Linked DNA regions of Homo sapiens: region 2 is linked to region 1. The links are contacts of gene promoters, found by promoter capture Hi-C in human tissues and cell types (Jung and others, 2019). All regions are on one chromosome and are shown on one strand. Each heading gives the region's core, a stretch centred on a gene start or on the middle of the fragment in contact. The rest is flanking DNA. Distances are from core to core; before and after follow the strand shown. Region 1 holds the start of NAV3 (neuron navigator 3). Region 2 has its middle 39 kb from the start of NAV3.

Region 1 (5,036 bases), core at 1,381-3,880:
TCCACCATGGGTAGATGCAGCAAGAAGACCCTCACCACATATGGGCCCCTCACTCTTATGCTTCCCAGCCTCCAGAACTGTAAGAAGCAAATCTGTTGTTATTTATAAATTACCCAGTTTTAGATATTCTGTTATAGTAGCACAAATGGACTAACACAGTGGGTTCGAGATGAATACAATCATCTATATTTTAGTAAGCACTCAGGTCACCATCACATCTGGTTTGTTGAACTCAGTTTGTAAAACCTCATTTTGAACTTCATCTACAAGGTATCAGTGACCGTAAGCTAATTTTTTACTTTCTCGGTGCCTTTGTCTCCTAGGTCTCAAAACGGTGTGGTTCTTTTAAGATAAATTGAGATGACAACTCCTGGCACAAAGCACATTTTTTATAGTAAGTTAGTTTGGTTTTGTTGCTTTTGGTGGTAGATATTACTGCAAAAAATTAGTTGACAGTGGCTACTAATACCATCTTATATTTCAGTCAGAGTGAAAGATATTGCCTAATATGCAAAAGGTATTTCAAAGTGAAAAGACATCTTATTGAATGTGAATCCTTTTTTTTCAATCTAATTGTTCCAGGAATTACGATACATTCTCCTCCAATGCATGTTTCCAAAATACCAATGAGCTCATTTGTAATTGGCAAACAGGAATTTTGTACTAGTATAATGCAGAAGTTGTGTAGCTTTATATACAATTTATTCTAGGCAAAGGGAAGCAGAATAGTCAGCGTAGAATTATAACCTTGGGTGGGCAAAGAAGCCCTCAGTTTGAATGTTGTATAGTCAGCAGGAGCCCTTTTGGCTCAGTTTTAAGAAAACTAAAAACAAAAACAAAAATGAATGCCTGCATCTGGGGCTTCCTCTTCAAAGGGGCATGCCCCTGGCCTTGTGCAGCTCTTAAATATTTGCAGTTGCCCTGACCCTGTACCCATTTCAATGGCAAGCCTACTGGCTTGGAGTTTGCCTTCCAACCGGATTTCTTCCACCAATTCTGGTTAAAGTGTTGCCAGCATTTATACCCAATTATTTTTTTATGTAATTCTGAGTCACTTCCTTGAGTGGTCCAAATTATTTTCTGAGGTGCCAATATTATTTTTGCTAGCAATATACTCCCAAAGTTGCATATGTTTTGAGTGAACTTCCTAGAATCAATTTTTCCCACAAGTTCTATTATTTAGGTGCTGTTTTGTTTTGCATTGTGAGGATTACAAGTTGCATATGTCTTATTATGAACTAAACCTCATTTTACGAACATGAACCTCTCCAACTCTGTATTACCTTATAGTTTCTGAAAGTTATAATGTGTTGAATGGTTTGCAAATTGCAAAATAACTTACTTCCTCAGAGAGATTATTTCATTTCTTTGATACCACTAGTGTTGTATTTGTTTTGTATTACCCCGCTGTGTAAAGCCCACTTGGGTTACTATTTTTAAAGCCTGCAAGACTTCTAACTTACATTTCCTGTCTTCTATGCTGCATCAGCAGAACATATACTTTTAGTTATTGGCTCTTTCATCTATAAATTACTGCTTCTTAGATAAAAGTACGTAGTGATTTAAAGACCTGGAAACAGTAGGCCAAAGATGACCATTTCTTCACTAAAGAAAGACATTTTCTATAAAAAATGGTTACGATTTAATAATTTCCATGATTCATTGTGTCTATACTAAGTGTCCACCACTCATTTTTCTAAGACCTTTGGTTGCATTATTACTAATTTTTATATTTGGTGTATATAATTGCTCTCTGTATCCATTTTCTGAGTGCAATCAGTTTCAGAACAATAATGCATGGTACATTAGATGTTTTCTTAAAAGTTTACCCCTTGTTTATTTAAAGTTCCTGACATGCTTTAACCAGAAATAGAACATGCTATGATTATATTAAAATAATTCTATGGATGGAAGCATCATCATTCATTCTCACTGAGTATCTGTTTGGACAGTTTTTAGAAGCTTGGGATTTTAAGTTGGACGTCATAAGCTTGAATAACAGTGTTATTTTCAACCATTTTAAAAGACAGGTTTACAAACTAAAATCATACATTCTTTCCCCCTTTCTAGCTTCATCATTTTAGTCAATTTTTTCAGTGTCTCCAAGTCATAGCTGTTCTTTCTATAAAGTGAAGAAAATAAATATGCCTATACTTTGAGTCATTCCAATGATTAAATGTGATAATGCATAAAATGCTTAGCTCCATAACTGCTTTGTAATACATTCCACATAAGTGTTAGCTTTGAATGTTTTTATAATCATGACTTATTAAATTTGGGAACAATGATTACTACATATTTAGTGCCCTGCTTCCTGTGTTTACTCTATTTTCATAACCTAGGCAGCTATGGTCCGATGAATGATTTAACTGCTTTAGCTAGTTGCACTATTGCATGATTTTAGCCTGATTTCATGGGATGCAACAGAATGAACATCGTGGCTCATGGCTGTCAGTAGTGAAAAATAGCTGGAAATCAGACAAACAACTTTATTGCTGAGATTGTTTCCGGGCTAAAAGTTCTTCCAACAGCTGTTTGTTTTGGCCATTAACATGTCCATTCTTTTTATTTTTTCTGAGCTGGGGGAAATACAATTTTCTTTAAAAAGAGAATGCAGGCTGGCTATTTCTGAAATCAGGAAGAACCCCTGTCCTTCCACTGTTGTGGTCTTTTGGCTGCTCTGACAGTTGGACTGAAGGGCTTTTCCTTTTGATTTTTTCCTCTTTTTCAATCTCAAAGTTCAGACTCAGACTGCTTTAGTGAGAAAAAAAAATAAGCAAAACTAAGAGCTCTTTAATCCTAAGAAGGAGCTTTGTAGCAGTTACCTTGAAGAAGAGTTTACTCCCCAAAGGAGTATTTAGTATTACTTAGATACTGAGTCACTGAACAGAGAGAGAGAGAGAGACAGAGAGAGAGAGAGAGAGAGAGAGACAGAGAGAGAGAGAGAGAGAGAGAAAGAGAGAGAGAGAGAGAATGAGAATGAATATGAATCCCAGCCAGCAAGAAAGAAAAGATACTTAACTAAAGATGCAGGGAAGTTTTGCCTCTTCCTGAAAATTATATTATTAGCTTTTTAAAAATCAGGATGACTGCTAGTTTTGTTTAAAGTATTTGTTCTGGAAATACTAAAGTTGGAGTCTACCAGACTGAGGTTAGAAGCATTTTCTTTGGCAGCAAGAAGATAATTTTATAGAAGCCATGCCTGTTCTTGGGGTTGCCTCAAAACTGAGGCAGCCAGCTGTTGGGTCAAAGCCTGTGCATACTGCTCTTCCGATACCAAATCTTGGCACTACTGGGTCACAGCACTGTTCTTCAAGACCTTTGGAACTTACTGAAACAGAGAGCTCCATGCTTTCTTGTCAGCTTGCGTTAAAATCAACCTGTGAATTTGGAGAGAAGAAACCCCTCCAAGGAAAAGCCAAGGAGAAAGAAGACAGCAAGGTTAGTTGCTGAAGTTACCTGCAGACTTGTGTAGCTAAAATGCACATTTCTCTTTAAGTGCACTATAAAACATGTTATGAAATGGGGAGTAGTAGAGGAATACCAGTGTAAGGATGTAAGTAGTTATAATGGCTGAAAAGCTGAATATTTAGCTTATGTAAACACTGTATTCTTAGTTTAGAGTTGTAAAAGTCATGATCAAAATTTTCTGAATATGCATCTATTGTAATCATTTAATACTACTTATTGATGAATGCCTAGTTAGTTCTAGATATTGCTCTATTACTAATAATCATAATCAGTCACAAATGTGAGAAAAAGAGAACCTATTGTCATCCATACTGCAATGTATGAAAATAGGTACTTTCAAAAAGACATTTATTTGTAATAATTCATATAGACACCATCACTTTTCTCTAAATGTCATTTGCATTTCAAAGAATTTCTGCTTGAAAATTTGTATCATAGGCTGCTTAATTCATTGCAGTATGAAGGAAAATGACATACTATTTTCCTTGATACTGCACATTTATATGGACTTTCCCTTGTAAACTGAAACGCTACTCTTTTACTTATTACTGACATCTTTTTCAGTCATTTAATTTATGATATTTTGTGAGTAGTTGCTCATAGCCCTTGGTTTCTAAAGCATACTACAACCGTTTTCTCCAGTCACGCATGCTAGAATGGCACTGAAGCTGCTGAACTTCATGCGGATTCATTTGTACCTTGATAAGCGTCACTTTTGTTTTGTGCATTTTTACTTTTATTGGTACATATTAGGTGTATATATTTATGGGTACATATTGGTGTATATATTTATGTGGTTCATGAGAGATTCTGATACAGGCATACAATGTGTAATAATCATATCAGGGTAAATGGAGTATCTGTTGCCTTAAGCATTTATCATGTCTTTGTGTTGCAAACATTATATATTCTTTTAGTTATTTAAAAATATAGAATAAGTTATTGTTGACAGTAATCATCCTATAGTGCTATCAAATACTAGATCTTATTCATTCTATCTAAATGTATTTTTGTACTCATTAACGATCCACACTCCCCCTACCCCTCGCCACTACCCTTTCCAGCCTCTGGTAACCATCATTCTACTCAGCATCACTTTTTAATGCAGCATTAACTATGATGTCAAGCTTTCCAAAGTCACAGCCTCGTCTCTGGCTTCTTAGGAAATATTTTCATTTTACTCTGCTATCCAAATGTTAGTTTAAAATAATTTAAGGAAAAAACCTTTATACAAAAATCAACTCTAGAAGTGAAAAAGAAAGCCACTCCTTTTTCTACAATGCCCATCCCACCTTCACCTGTTCAGATCCTTTAAGCTTTATCCCAGATCCAACTTTATTCATAAAGTCTTTGCTAGCTATCCCTTCCCCACCATTCCTCCTTCCCAATTCTTTTTCTGTAGAAATGCTTGTGTATTTTAATTATCTGGATAATTTCTTTTAATTATCTGGATAATTTATTTGTATCTCCACTAAGTTGAAAACATATAGAAGGCAGGTCTCGTATCTTATCCTGTGTTCCAGCTCTCTCCCTGTACAATGCTTTATGCATGATAAGAATTAAAT
Region 2 (5,036 bases), core at 799-3,298, 39 kb before region 1:
ATGCCTGTAATCCCAGCAACTTTGGGAGGCGGAGGCGGGTGGATCACCTGAGGTCAGGAGTTCAAGACCAGCCTGGCCAACATGATGAAGCCCCGTCTCTACTAAAAATACAAAAAGCAGCCGGGTGTGGTGGTGGGTGCCTGTAATCTCAGCTACTTGGGAGACTGAGGCAGGAGAATCACTTGAACCTGGGAGGCGGACGTTGCAGTGAGCTGAGATCGTGCCATTGCACTGCAGCCTGGGCAACAAGAGCAAAACTTCGTCTCGAAAAGAAAAAAAAAAAAAAAAAAAAGAGAACAAGAGAAAAGAAAAAAAAAATTCACAAAAAAAGTCTCATAACATTTTAAGAGAGCTTACGAATTTGTGTTGTGCCACATTCAAAGCTGTCCTGGGCCGAATGTGGGTGGCAGGTTGGAAAACCCTGGTCTAGAATATATTTTCCTCATCTACCTAGTGACTACCTGGTGAGCACCCAGTAACCTTTTGAGACGTGGCAAGTCTGTTTGGCAGATTCCACCCCTGTGAAACTTCTCTTACCACCACAGCAGCTTACACTACCAGTAATAAGCCTCTTACACTACCAGTGATAAGCCTCTCAGTGCCCCTACTGTCATTTCTAATACAAATAACAATTTTAAAAAGCAACAAATTTATTCATACTACAACTGAGATGCACAGTGGGCATATGCCATATTAAACTAAACTGGTTTTCTTCACAAAACTTCACATCTTTTGACTCACCAGAAAAAAAATAGTTACGATATGTTCAACTAGCTCTTTAGGTGGTACTCAGTATGTCTAAGAGAAGACATTCAATCTCTGATTTTGAAGTCATCTGCCCTCATTTTAGTCTTCTTTCCTAGATTGTTCTGGGTATAAGGTATCATGGAGTGAGTAATTTTCATGATCTTGTCATGAAAGAATTAGTTTTGGATACAGAAGCACCTGTTTCCTCTGATCTCCAGGATGATGATCCTTGTCCAGCTTGTTGCTGATCTTTGCAGGTGAGATCAATGGCTTGTGTAATTTGCAATCTGGCTTCATGGTTTGATCAGGGCCCACCTTTGTACCCTAGTTTACTAGGACTTCTCTTAACTCTTGCTTATGTTGGAGGCTTGCTAGACTTTCAGACTCTGCAACATCTGTCTGGCTCTGAGAACCTGGCCATTTACCTAAACCTATGGGATTCATAATCAAGAGGGCACTTCAGCAGGCCCAGTGACTCTCAACTCAGTGTCTAGGTAATATAAGAACATTCAGGAGTGCAAACCAGAGCCTCTCCTCTCTCACCTGACCACTTCACTCAGGGCGACCTTTGCTGACTGAGGTCTGTGTATCTTCATGCTTTCCTCTGCTGATGGTTTTAAGGGCGTCCCTCTTACTACTCTCTCCTCCCTACTCTGCATATGCCCTTTTAGTGTTTTCCCTCAAAGGAGAAGGAAAACGAAACAACAACAACAAAGCAGGAAGCTTGATCTCAAGTTGGTGCTTTCTTTGTTCCTGTAGGACAATAAAAATATTTTCCATTTGGCCGGGCGCGGTGGCTCATGCCTGTAGTCCCAGCACTTTGGGAGGCCAAGGTGGGTGGATCACAAGGTCAGGAGTTTGAGACCAGCCTGGCCAATATGGTGAAACCCCGTCTCTACTAAAAATACAAAAATTAGCCAGGCATGGTGATCGGTGCCTGTAATCCCAACTACTCAGGAGGCTTAGGTAGAAGAATTGCTTGAACCCGGGAGGTGGAGGTTGCAGTGAGCCAAGATCGCACCATTGCACTCCAGCCTGGGTGACAAGAGCAAAACTCCATCTCAAAAAAAAAAAAAAAAAAATTCCCTTTTATTTCATTATTATTTTCTTCTTCACTCAATCTTATGGATAGGCCCTAATGATAAAATAGGGCATTTTCCTGGCTTTATTAAACAAGACCCGTGATAAGATCCAACAGGCTTAGCTCTTAGAAATGTATATTGGTGGTTTGAGTATATTGTCTCATTTAAACCATATAACTCCCCTGTGGCATAGGTGCTATCTTTTTTCCTATTTTACAGAAGAGGAACTGAGGCTCTGCAAAGGGTAATCACTATCCCATTGTTGACTTCAGGCATGTGGCAGGGCCTAACACTCCTTACATCTCTATATATAGTGAGCCCTCCATATCCAAGGACTCCCCATTCGTAGATTCAAACAATCATGGATAAAAATATAGTTACGCCTATGATGGCTGCATCTGTACTGAACATTCACAGACTATTTCTTGTTCATTCCCCAAACAATACAATATAGCAAGTATTTGCATAGCACTCACATTCTGTGACTTATTATAAGTAATCTAGAGATGATTTAAAGTATGCCTGTAAGGATATGCATAGGTTATATGTTAATACTACATCATTTTATATCAGAGACTTGAGCATCCATGGCTTTGGTATTTGGGGGAGTTCCAGAACCAATCCCCTGTGGATATTGAGTGACAACTGTACTTCTATTCTAAAAGCCTGTTAAATACAAGGCATCTTTAAGTCTTTCATCATTATCTGTGATTATTCCCTTCCTCACTCTGTATGCTGCAACTGGACTTATTTTCTTCCAATTCCTCCAAACTGTCTTTTTTAAAAAACTCTCTGGATTTTTTTAAAAAGCATTTCACTCTGTTTGGAATGCTGTATCCTCCTACATGTAGCAAGTATAAAGTTCAGTTCACAAACTCAGGTGGGCAAGAAATAAAACAACCTTTGCTTTATAAGTCATTTTATTTTCTGTTTTAACCCACATTCTGTCAGGTTGGTGGAGAATTAATCCTAAGCCTTTTTAAAGGTTCCTTTATGTGCCCACCTACCATGGTGCCCAAATATCAGGTAGTTCTAAGGCATTGGATGTCAGTCATGGTGGCCATGAGTATGTGTCACTCAGACCACAAGCTACAGGGAGCATCATACAAGGAACCTGCTGCCCTGCTCTGAAATCCATTGCCACATTTACACATGCTTTCCAGGGGCTGCTCCCAGCCATATCAAGCATGGCTAAGGGATACCACGAGAAGTCTGTTTCTGGAAGACACAGGATTCCTTCGATGGGCAATTTTGGTTCAAGTACTCCCGGAAAATTTTGCAGAACTTTCCCTAGATTACACAGTAGCCTGAGACACATTCATTTCAGCCTTCTTTCCTGCTCTGTTCCTTTGGGATCAGACTTGTATTACAATCTGAAGGCACTCTCTATATTTTCTCTTATGGGTGTTTCCCTTAAAATCTTTGTACACTTAATCTCATCTTGATGTCTGCCTCTAAGAAGCCCACACTAATAGATGGGAGATTTGGCCAGTAAATAATCTGATCCCCCAATTACTACTGAAAAGCATGTCTCTCAGTGGACATGTTACTATGGCCCTTCAAGTGTGCTGGGTCATGGCTAATTCATTGCATGATTTCAGTGCGGGATATTCTGAGAGGCTTCCCATGGTCCCACGTGCTTAGTTATCCCAGGAAGCTAAAAGCTTTCTTCTTGCAAATACCAAATTTCTCCCACCCACACAGCAAATAAAAATACATACAGAGCATGCACTGTAGTTGAAAAAATATGAACAATAATGGCATGTGTGAATGAGTAAATAAAAAATATTATAGCTATTAACCTTAGAAGAAAAAAGCAGTATAGTTATAAAAAATTGGGCAATGTTACATTGAGATCAGGAAGATTTCATTGAAAAGGTGGTATTTTGCTTAAGATTTGAAAAAGAAGTGGTAAGTATTTCTCTATTTTAATTTTTTTATTTTACTTTATGTTTTGGGATACATGTGCAGAACTTGCAGGTTTGTTACATAGGTAACAAATACATGTGCCATGGTGGTTTGCTGCACCCATCAACCTGTCATCTAGGTTTTAAGCCCCACATGCATTAGGTATTTGTCCTAATGCTTTCCCTCCACTTGCCCCCCACACCCTGACAGGCCCTCTTGTTTGTGATGTTCCCTCCCTGTGTCCATGTGTTTTCACTGTGCAGCTCCCACTTATGAGTGAGATCCTGCAGTGTTTGGTTTTCTGTTCCTGTGTTAGTTTTCTGAGAATGATGGTTTCCAGCTTCATCCATGTCCCTGCAAAGGATATGTACTCATTCTTTTTTATGGCTGCATAGTATTCCATAGTGTATATGTGCCACATTTTCTTTATCCAGTCTATCATTGTTGGGCATTTGGGTTGGTTCCAAGTATTTGCTATTGTGAATAGTGCTGCAATAAACATACATGTGCATGTGTCTTTATAGTAGAATGATTTATAATCCTTTAGGTATATACCCAGTAATGGGATCGCTGGGTCAAATGGTATTTCTGGTTCTAGATCTTTGGGGAATCACCACAATGTCTTCCATAATGGTTGAACTGATTTACACTCCCACCAACAGTGTAAAGCATTCCTATTTCCCCACAGCCTCACCAGCATCTGTTGTTTCCTGTCTTTTTTAATGATCACCTTTCCAACTGGCATGAGATGGATCTCATTGTGGTTTTGATTTGCATTTCTCCAATGACCAGTGATGATGAGCTTTTTTTCATATGTTTCTTGGCCATGTAAATGTCTTCTTTTGAGAAATGTCTGTTCATATACTTCACCCACTTTTTGCTGGGGATGTTTGTTTCTTGTCTTGTAAATTTTTTAAAGTTCCTTGTAGATTATATCATCTATTTAAGGTATAGATATGTTATAGTTTCCAATGTATTATATTAGGGAAGAAAAGCACTGAATTTGAGGTCAGAAATCTGTTCATAGCCTTCTTGTTTTCTAGCTGTCAGTAACATATTGATCAAATAAGTAAACTTTTTAGGGTCTTCTTTTGCTTATTGCACTTATACTAAGTCATTTTCAAGATCCCTACACCCTTACCAGTCTCTAGTCAAGATCCCAGTCAACTGGCGGTTGATCTAGAAGATTAATCTAGCCAGTTATGTATCTAAATTCATGTTATTTTAACACCAACTTTAATATTTTTCAAAGCACAATGCGGCAGAGCCAGAGATACAGGCATACTTCCTTGTGTTGTG

What was found. The method cuts DNA at HindIII sites, captures the fragments that hold promoters and counts their contacts. A contact is called where the count stands out against the background at its distance.
Region 2: a fragment that was not itself captured here is called in contact with the fragment with the promoter of NAV3 in region 1 in 1 of the 25 tissues and cell types used here (mesenchymal stem cells).

What each region holds. Positions count from the first base shown.
Region 1 is chr12:77,828,264-77,833,299 of GRCh38, forward strand. It overlaps NAV3 (neuron navigator 3), which reads left to right and starts at 2,631. Exons shown (of 40, transcript NM_001024383.2): 1 at 2,631-3,441. The coding sequence starts at 3,199. The HindIII fragment of the contact is 9,569 bases long and covers 1-5,036 here.
Region 2 is chr12:77,789,545-77,794,580 of GRCh38, forward strand. It overlaps a transcript of NAV3 not described here. Among named protein-coding and RNA genes, the nearest start is that of NAV3, 39 kb to the right of the region's middle. The HindIII fragment of the contact is 4,909 bases long and covers 1-4,503 here.